Linked DNA regions of Homo sapiens: all the other regions are linked to region 3. Evidence: promoter capture Hi-C in 16 types of primary human blood cells and fetal thymus (Javierre and others, 2016). All regions are on one chromosome and are shown on one strand. The core of a region is centred on a gene start or on the middle of the fragment in contact, and the rest is flanking DNA. Distances in the headings are between cores, read along the strand shown. Region 1 has its middle 110 kb from the start of DIP2C. Region 2 has its middle 16 kb from the start of DIP2C. Region 3 holds the start of LINC00200 (long intergenic non-protein coding RNA 200).

The links. Contacts are between HindIII fragments. The CHiCAGO score rates a contact against its expected background, and 5 or more counts as called.
Region 1: a contact is called between a fragment that was not itself captured here and the fragment with the promoter of LINC00200 in region 3, in 1 of 17 cell types (monocytes). The highest score is 5.5, in monocytes.
Region 2: a fragment that was not itself captured here is called in contact with the fragment with the promoter of LINC00200 in region 3 in 1 of 17 cell types (neutrophils); the score reaches 6.5 in neutrophils.

Annotation. Positions count from the first base shown.
Region 1 is chr10:795,478-798,647 of GRCh38, reverse strand. No RefSeq gene overlaps it. Among named protein-coding and RNA genes, the nearest start is that of DIP2C, 110 kb to the right of the region's middle. The HindIII fragment of the contact is 4,290 bases long and covers 1-3,170 here.
Region 2 is chr10:704,230-707,428 of GRCh38, reverse strand. No RefSeq gene overlaps it. Among named protein-coding and RNA genes, the nearest start is that of DIP2C, 16 kb to the right of the region's middle. The HindIII fragment of the contact is 7,827 bases long and covers 1-3,199 here.
Region 3 is chr10:1,158,439-1,161,445 of GRCh38, reverse strand. It overlaps LINC00200 (long intergenic non-protein coding RNA 200), which reads right to left and starts at 1,678. Exons shown (of 3, transcript NR_015376.2): 1 at 1,456-1,678; 2 at 809-893. It overlaps LOC105376344 (a long non-coding RNA gene), which reads left to right and starts at 1,684. Exons shown (of 3, transcript XR_930535.3): 1 at 1,684-2,182. The HindIII fragment of the contact is 5,498 bases long and covers 1,015-3,007 here.

The DNA of each region.
Region 1 (3,170 bases), core at 557-3,056, 360 kb after region 3:
CCCATGTGTCATGGGAGGGACGCAGTGGGGGTAATTAAATCATAGGGGTGGCTTTTTCCTACGCTGTTCTTATGATAGTGAAGAAGTCTCATGAGATCTGATGGTTTTATAAAGGGCTCCTGCACACGCTCTCTTGCCTGCCACCATGTAAGATGTGCCTTTGCTCCTCCTTTGTCTTCTGCCATGATTGTGAGGCCTCTCCAGCCATGTGGAACTGTGAGTCCATTAAACCTCTCTCTCTTTTTTTTTAAATAAATTACCCATTCTTGAGTATTTCTTTATAGCAGTATGAAAATGGACTAATATAATAAGTTGGTACCAGTAGAGTGGGGTACTGCTATTAAGATACCTGAGGCCAGGCATGGTGGCCCATGCATGTAATCCTAGCACTTTGGGAGGCCGAGGGAGGCAGATGATCATCACCTAGGTCAGGAATTTGAGACCAGCCTGGCCAACATGGCGAAATCCCGTCTCTACTAAAAATACAAAAATTAGCCAGGCGTAGTGGCGAGTGCCTATAATCCCAGCTGCTTGGGAGGCTGAGGCAGGAGAATCACTTGAACCCAGGAGGCCGAGGTTGCAGTAAGTCAAGATCGTGCCACTGCATTCCAGCCTGGGTGAAAAAAGTGAGACTCCATCTCAAAAAAAAAAAAATGTGGAAGCAACTTTGGAACTGGATAACAGGCAGAGGTTGGAACAGTTTGGAGGACTCAGAAGAAGACAGGAAGATGTGGGAAAGTTTGGAACTTCCTAGAGATTTGTTGAATGGTTTTCACCAAAAAGTCCAGGCTGAGATAGTCTCAGATGAAGATGAGGAACTTATTGGGAACTGGACAAAGTTGATTCTTGCTATGCTTTAGCAAAGAGACTGGCAGCCTTTTGTCCCCTAGAGATCTGTGGAACTTTGAACTTGAGAGAGATGATTTAGGGTATCTGGTGGAAGAAATTTCTAAGCAGCAAAGTGTTCAAGATGTTTGGTGCTCTTAAAAGCATTCGGTTTTATTCCTTCACAAAGATATGGTTTGGGATTGGAACTTGTATTTAAAAGGGAAGCACAGCACTAAATTTCAGAGAATTTGCAGCCTAACAATGCAATAGAAGAGAAAAACTAATTTTCTGATGAAAAATTTAAGCCAGCTGCAGAAATTTGTATAAGTAACAAGGGGCCAAATGTTAATTGTCAAGACAATGGGCAAAATGTCTCCAGGGCATGTTAGAGGTCTTCATAGCACCTCCTCACATCACAAGCCAGGAGGCCTAGGAGGAAAAAATGGTTTCGTGGGTTGGGCTCAGGGTCCTGCTGCTTTGTGCAGTCTGAGAACTTGGTGCCCTCTGCCCCTGCAGCCACACCTGTGACTGAACATCCAGGCATTTCCATACAACCTCTGAAATCTAGGTGGAAGTTTCCAAACCTTATTCTTGTCTTCTGTGCACCTGTAAGACCAACACCATGTGGAAGCTGCCAAGCCTTGGGGCTTTCAATCTCTGAAGCCATGGCCTGAGCTGTACCTTGGCCCCTTTTAGCCATGGCTGGAGCAGCTGGGACACAGGGCGTCAAGTCCCTAGGCTGTACACAGCAGGGGGGCCCTGCGTCCAGCCCACAAAACCATTTTTAACTCCTAAGCTGCCTTGAAGGTCTCTGATACTCCCTGGAGACATTTTCCCCATTGTCTTCGTGATTAACCAAGTGTTACTTATGCAAATTTCTACAGCAGGCTTGAATTTCTCTCCAGAAAATGGGTTTTCCTTGTCTACTGCATTGTCAGGCTGCTAATTTTCCAAACTTTTATCCTCTGCTTCCTCTTGAACACTTTGCCACTTAGAATTTTCTTCTGCCAGATATTCTAAATCATCTCTCAAGTTCAAAGTTCCACAGATCTCTAGGGCAGGGGCAAAATGCTGCCAGTGTCTTTGCTAAAGCATAGCAAGAGTCACCTTTGCTCCAGTTGCCAACAAGTTCCTCATCTCCATCTGAGACCACATCAGCCTGGACTTTCTTGTCCATATCACTATTAGCATTTTGGTCAAAGACATTCAACAAATCTCTAGGAAGTTCCAAACTTTCCCACATCTTCCTTTCTTCTGAGCCCTCCAAGTCTCTAGTAAGTTCCAAACTTTCCCACATTTTCATATCTTCTTCTGGACCCTCCAAACTGTTCCAACCTCTGCTTGTTACCCAGTCCCAAAGTTGCTTTCACATATTTGGGTTCTTTACAGCAGCACCCCACTTCCGGTACCAATTTACTGTATTAGTCTGTTCTCACACTGTTAATTAAGACATACCTGTGACTGGTTAATTTATAGAGGAAAGGAGGTTTAATGGACTTAGAGTTCTACATGGTTGGGGAGGCCTCACAATCATGCCGGAAGGCAAAGGAGGAGCAACAGCACGCTTTACATGGCGGCAGACAAGTGAGCTTGTGCAGGGGAACTGCCCTTTATAAATCCATCAGATCTCTTGAGACTTACTCACTATCATGAGAACAGCATGGGAAAACCCACCCCCGTGATTCAGTTATCTCCCAGCAGGTCACTCCCACAACACGTGGGGATATGGGAGCTGCCATTCAAGAAGAGATATGGGTGGGGACAGAGCCAAACCACATCAGAGATGTTCCCTGGATTTCTTCTATCTGGATGTCTACCTCTCTAGCAAGATTAGGGAAATTTTCTTGAGCTATTCCCTCAATTACATTTTCCAGGTTGTTTACTTTTTCTCCCTTCTCAGGAATGCCAATAATGTGTAGGTTTGGTCACTTTAAGTAATTCTGTGTTTCTTGAAGATTTTGTTCATTAAAAATTTTTTTTCTATATTTTTGTCTGTCTGGGTTAGTTCAAAAGACTGGTCTTCAGGCTCTGAAATTCTTTATTCTGTTTGGCCCAGTCTATTGGTAAAGTTTCAATTGTATTTTGAAATTCCATGAGTGTTTCAATTCCAGAAGCTCTGATTGATTTATTGTTAAGATTTCTTCCTTCATTTCCTGGGTGGCTTTAGAAGTTTCTGTGTGCTAATTTTCAACTCCGTTTTGCATCTTGTCGAGCTCCCTTTGTAGCAGGAAGAGCTGCAGACAAAACCCCTCGAAACACCGAGTTTAGGAAAGAAAGGGCTTTATTTGGCCGGGAGTGTCAGCAGTCTTATTCTCAAAAAACCAAGCTCCCTGAGTGAGCAA
Region 2 (3,199 bases), core at 482-2,981, 450 kb after region 3:
AAGAAATGTCTATGCAAAATAATGAAGAATTTGTGTGGCTACTTTAAATCACATACAGTCAGATATGAGATAAATGACTTAAAGATGGAATTCATAATTAAAAGAGAAGCAAAATGGAAGGATTTTGAAGTTTTTCAGCCTGACCATGTAAAGAATAAAAAGGTGAGTTTGGGAGAGCAAACCAAGGGTGTGGCCAAGTGACTGTTCACTGAGGAGATGACTGGGGAGAGAAGGAATCATCAGGACAGGGAGAATGACCCTGAAGGCACCTCCAAGATCTTCAAGGCTGCCCCCATCACTGACCGGGAGCTCCAGGGAACCCACAACCAGTGCAGTGCTCAGTCACCGCAGCTGTGGCTGCAGCCATGGCTCTGGAAAGTACAAGCTATAAACCTTGGTGGCATCCATGTGGTGCCAATTTTTAGGCAAGAAGAATGCTAGAGCTGTGGGGCAGCCTCCACCTAGATTTCAAGAGATGTCATGGACAGCCTGCGGCCCCAGGCAGGGACTTGTCACAGGAGCAGAGCCACCGCAGAGAGCCTGTACTGGGGCAATGGCAAGCAGAAATTCAGGGGTGAACCGCTGCAGAGAGGCCTCACCTGGGCAATGCTGAGGAAAGGAAAAAACTAAGCCACCATTTTTTGTAGATAAAACAATTTTATCTGTAGTACATTAAAAAATATTTTACAGATAAACTATTGGAATTAGTAAGAACGTTTATGGGGGGTTACCAAAAACAATATCAGTATAAAAATTCAATTGTATTCTATATAAAAGCAACAAATAGAAAATGTCATTTAAAAATATACCATTTAAAAATCACCAATAGCATCACCAATAGCAATTATAATAGATAAAAAAGAATAGTGTGAAAAACTTTTATGAGAAAAATTATAAAACTTTACTGAAAGACTGAAAGACATTGCTGAAAACCTAAACAAATGCAGAGATGTGCCGTGTTGTGGAGAATCAAAATGCAGAGAGGTGGTTAATCTTTCAGTTGATTTCTAGATTCAGTTCAATCCCACTCAGATCCCAGGAGGTATTTGGGGTGAGGGAGGTACACATGACAAGGTAATTCAAAATATGCAAAAATTCCAGGCACAGGAAGAGCCAAGGCATTGGAGAAGGAGAAGAAGGGAGGTGGGGAAGGAAGGCACAAGAGATCTTCTGCTATCAGTTTTGTGGATGTTATTGGCTGCATTAATACCATGTAGTATTGGTTCAGGAATGAAAAGATAGATACGTGGAACAGAATAGAGAGCTCATAAATGCTTGGCAACTTCTGGCATAGAAAGCAATTCAGAGTTCTGGGGGAAAAGTGCATTTATGTTCACCAGCGTATCATATATATGATAGTATGTAACCACATATATTATACTACTTATGAAATTATAGTATATTTGTCCTATAATAGCCAAATCTGGAAACAGCCCAAATGTCCATCAACAGTAGAATGATAGAATGAATCAATACACTCTAATATATTCATTCAAAAAATATTTAGTTAGAGGAAAAAAAGGTAGGCTACGTGAAACAGCATGGATGAATCTACCAACCTAAAGGAGAGTGGAAAAAAATATATCAACATTATACAAAGTTCAAAAGTAAGCAAAATTAAACCATATTTTACAGGGATGCATGCAATGGTGGTAAAGAAAAGTATCACTGTGCAAGTCAGGAGAATGGTCTGTCTTGGTAGGAATGAGGGAATTGCAGTCAGGAAGTGATGCATGAAGGACTTTTAGGATGACAATCATGTTCAATGTCTTGACTTGGCTCATGGTTAGTTGGATTTTCAATCATTTAAGTGCTACCTGTAACATTTATTCACATTTCTATATATTTTGCAAAAGAAATGAAAATCAATTTTAGAACCTGGTTGAGAATTAGTTGGATTTCTACTTATTTGTTAAATATCAAAGTATTTATGCACATCTCTGCATATGTTATTTTTCCCCATAAAAATTGTGTACCTGCATAATTAGACTTCCAATGAAGCAATTTCCAGACTGATTCCATTTCCTACGGGCAAGTACACTGTGCTTTTCTGATGTTTCCTTTGGTGTTCACTTCACATTTCTTTTTTCTTTTTCTTTTCTTTTTTTTTTTTTTTTTTTGAGACAGAGTCTCACTCTGTCGCCTGGGCTGGAGTGCAGTGGTGCGATCTCCGCTCACTGCAAGCTCTGCCTCCCAGGTTCACACCATTCTCCTGCCTCAGCCCCCCAAGTAGCTGGAACTACAGGCACCCACCACCATGCCTGGCTAATTTTTTGTATTTTTAGTAGAGGCGGGGTTTCACCGTGTTAGCCAGGATGGTCTTGATCTCCTGACCTCGTGATCCACCTGCCTTGGCTTCCCAAAGTGCTGGGATTACAGGCGTGAGCCACCGCACCTGGCTTCACTTCGTATTTCTAAATAGTAAGCTCATAGTGCTAGGTCTTTATTTTTAAATTTTAGATACTACTTATTGACAGTCTACATCCCCCAGATGAGGACTTGGCTGTCTTTTTTTTTTTTTTTTGAAACGGGGTCTCACTATGTTGCCCAGGCTGGTATTGAACTCCTGAGCTCAAGTGATCCATCCACCTCAGCCTTCCAAAGTGCTGGGATTACAGGTATGAGCCACCTCGCCTGGCCCAGTCGGACTTGGCTTTCTAATTTTCCTCTTGCTCTCTATGCTCACACACAAACATTTCCTATCCTGTTCCTCCCTAAATATTTTGGTTTTTGTTTATGTCAATTCTCAGAATTTACATTATTATGACTATGTAAATATCATTTATCCCCAAAATAATTCAACCTCCATCTCCTCTCAATATGCCAATTCTATCAGTTTCATTATTTTTGTTGGAGACATCCCTCCAGAAATACTTATCCTTTTCCTCCAATCTGGACTTGTGTTTACATTATATGCACATGAAAATATTTTTCACAGACTTCTACTGCCAGCCATGACACAGACTTGTCCACTGGAAACAACTACAGCATGGGCAGCACAGGAGACGAGGCATTTTAGGCTTTGAAAAGTGTGTGTTGGGAGTGTCATCTGGTTGGGCATCTCGACCATGAGCTCGCCCACTTTATTTATTTTTTTTAAAGGCAAGACTGGATGCAGTGGCTCATGCCTGTAATCCCAGAACTTTGAGAGGCTGAGTTGGGTGGATCACAAGGTCAGGAGTTTGAGACCAGCCTGACC
Region 3 (3,007 bases), core at 429-2,928:
GTTTCTTCTGCCAGAGGCACAGAGAGGGCTCACTGGATTTTCTGTTCTACCTCAAAGCCATTGCACGTTTTTTCTTATTTCTTGTTATTTAATTTTTTTTTAAACAAGCCAACCAACTAAAATAACAAATTGATTTTCATTCAGGCAGCTCCCAGAACATAACTGGCTGGACCCCAGTAACGTCGCACACTGTGGAACATCAGGGCCCTCATCTTTAAAGATGTGGCTTGAGGTTTGCAGGCCTTATCGCTCATTAGCTATCCAGCCAGATGCAACTGCTCTGGAAGCAAGTAGCCCAGATAGACAGGACCTTCTGGAAATGAGCCTTCAGAGGCTGAAAAGCGTCTTGGAAGAGCAGCCCACTCTCCACCCAGCTGGCAGCTAAGTGGCTGGTAGTGTTGATTTCATTGTCTGCCTCAGCTTGGGTTCTCTCGGAAAGTCTCTGAGCCAAAGATTTGAGTGCAGGTAATTTATTAGGCACTTGCTCCCAGGCAAAAACGGTCAGGGGTGGGAGGATGAAAGGGAAGAAACCAAAAGTTGCAGAAGCATTGTCCTCGCAGCTAACATGGCCGCGTGCAAACGTGCCAGCCAGCAAGATGTTGGCATCGCCCTCTCAGCTAACATGGCTACCTGTGGAAGTGCCAGCCAGCAGGATGTCGGCATGGCCCTCGCAGCTAACATGGACACGTGCGAACGTGCCAGCCAGCAGGATGTCAGCATCCTCCTTGGAGCTGACATGGCCACGTGCGAACGTGCCAGCCAGCAGTAGTCGGCATGGTGCTGAGCACCCTCCGGGAACCGTCCCTACCTGAAATATGGGTGTGATGTACGGAGCACACGCAGCCACCCTGCAGCATGAGATGACTGTTGAGTACAGGACACGCAGAACGAAGCTGGAAAATGAAAAAAAAAAATCCTGGCTTGCTGACTTCCTGGGGCAAATACTGAGTGTTGGGAGATCATTTCCAGACTTAAATATGAGAGAGAAGTAAACCCCCCTTTTATTTCAAAGCTTAGCATGCCTATAAGTCACCTGCAGATCTTGTCAAAATGCAAGCTCTGACCAGAGAGCCCGGGCTTGTGACTTACATCATCTCCTGCTGAAATGCTGACGACACTCCAAATGGCAAGGGTTTTGGCCTCTATTATTTGGGGTTTTCTATCATTCACCATTGAAACTAATCCTCACTAATTAAAACAGTTTCACATTGGGGAGGAAAATAGTTTTTGTCTACTTTAAACTACTATGACTTAGGGTCTGTCAAAACCTCAAAAACTATATATATATATATTTCATTTCACTCGCTTTCATTTGGGACACAAATGGAGACCTGAATCACAGGTATCTTTGGAAACTGTTCTCAGCCTTCCTAGCTCAGCTGAAATGTCCTTTTCCAGGGACACTGGGCCCAGGGGGTGTGCTGGGGTCTGCGCTGGCTCCCCGGGCATTCATACCTTGGAAAGCTGCAGAGCTGACTTCAGGTTGTGCCAATTCCTGTGCTGCCTCATCCCTCATGTACATAAAGCGTGAGGCGCGCAGGCCTGCACCTGCGCCATCCCTCATCCACCTAAAGCGCGTGGCGCGCAGGCCTGCGCCGGCGCCATCCCTCATCTACGCAAAGCGTGCGACGCTCAGGCCTGTGCCTGCGTCATCCCTCATCTACGCAAAGCGTGCGACGCTCAGGCCTGCGCCGGCGCCATCCCTCATCTACGCAAAGCGTGCGACGCTCAGGCCTGTGCCTGCGTCATCCCTCATCTGCCTAAAGCCCTGCGCGCAGGCCTGTGCTTGCGCCATCCCTCATCTGCATAAAGCGTAGGGCGCGCAGGCCAGTGTGTTGGAAAACAACGCTTTGATGTTGTCTCCTGGATTTTCACAGCCTCCCTCTCACAGGAGAACAGGGGTGGACCCCGGCCTCGAGCACATCTGAGCTCTCTCTCTCCTGCCTGTGCTCCTGTTGAAGACATTCAGCCTCCGACTGCCCTCGGGAGGATGGAGATGCCCAGGTGCCGAGGCCAGAGCCCATGCGCAAAGCGAGGGCTGAGACCACGGAGGCCCCTTGTCTCCTCCAGCGGGTTCCTGAAGCCACGTCCCTGCTTGTGGAGGAAGAAAGCCGAACTGCAGCTCAGGGAGAGGTGGGCTTGCTGGCCTCGCTGGCGGCATCCGAATGCCTGGAGCCTCATGGTGGGTTCTGCTATTGCTGCCAGCAGCTGGATGTTTCGAAATTCGCCCGCTTTGGAATGATACAGTGAGACCTTGGCGGCCGCGCTGCCTGAGACGATGCTCTTACGTCTGCAGGGGAGGTTTCAAGGCCTGCTGGAGTCAGCGGCTGCCTTGCCGCCCTGGGAGGTGAGCAGCCCGTCCCTATGCTGGCTTCCTACAGGATGCAACCTGCATTTTCACCCCAGACAGACGCAGTCTTGGCCATCTGCTTGCCAGCATAGAAAATGCGTTGTTTCCCCCAAGTTTATTTTGGTTAATGGATTGAATTGGTTTTTTTAAACTGCATTGCTTTGAAACATCACTGGAGTTTTTCAGTTTTCATATTACTACATTTTTGATGTATTATCATTGAAATGCTATTTTAATGACGGTCAAAGCGGCTCCCAAGCCCTCCTTCACTGGTGAAGCACCAAGGTGCTCAAGTGAGCTCCCAGTGTACATGAGGGTGCTCTCGCTTTTGAAAAAAAGTGAAGGAGGCTGGGCGCGGTGGCTCACACCTGTAATCACAGCACTTTAGGAGGCTGAGGCAGGCGGATCACGAGGTCCGGAGCTCCAGACCAGCCTGGCCAGCATGGTGAAACCCCATCTCTATTAAAAATACAAAAATTAGCCGGGCATGGTGGCATGCACCTGTGATCCCAGCTACTCAGGAGGCTGAGGTAGGAGAATCGCTTGACCCCAGGAGGTGGAGGTTGCAATGAGCGGAGATTGTGTCATTGCACTCCAGCCTGGGCAATAGAGTGAGACTCCAAGAAAGAAAAGAAGAGAGGGGAGGAGAGGAAGGAA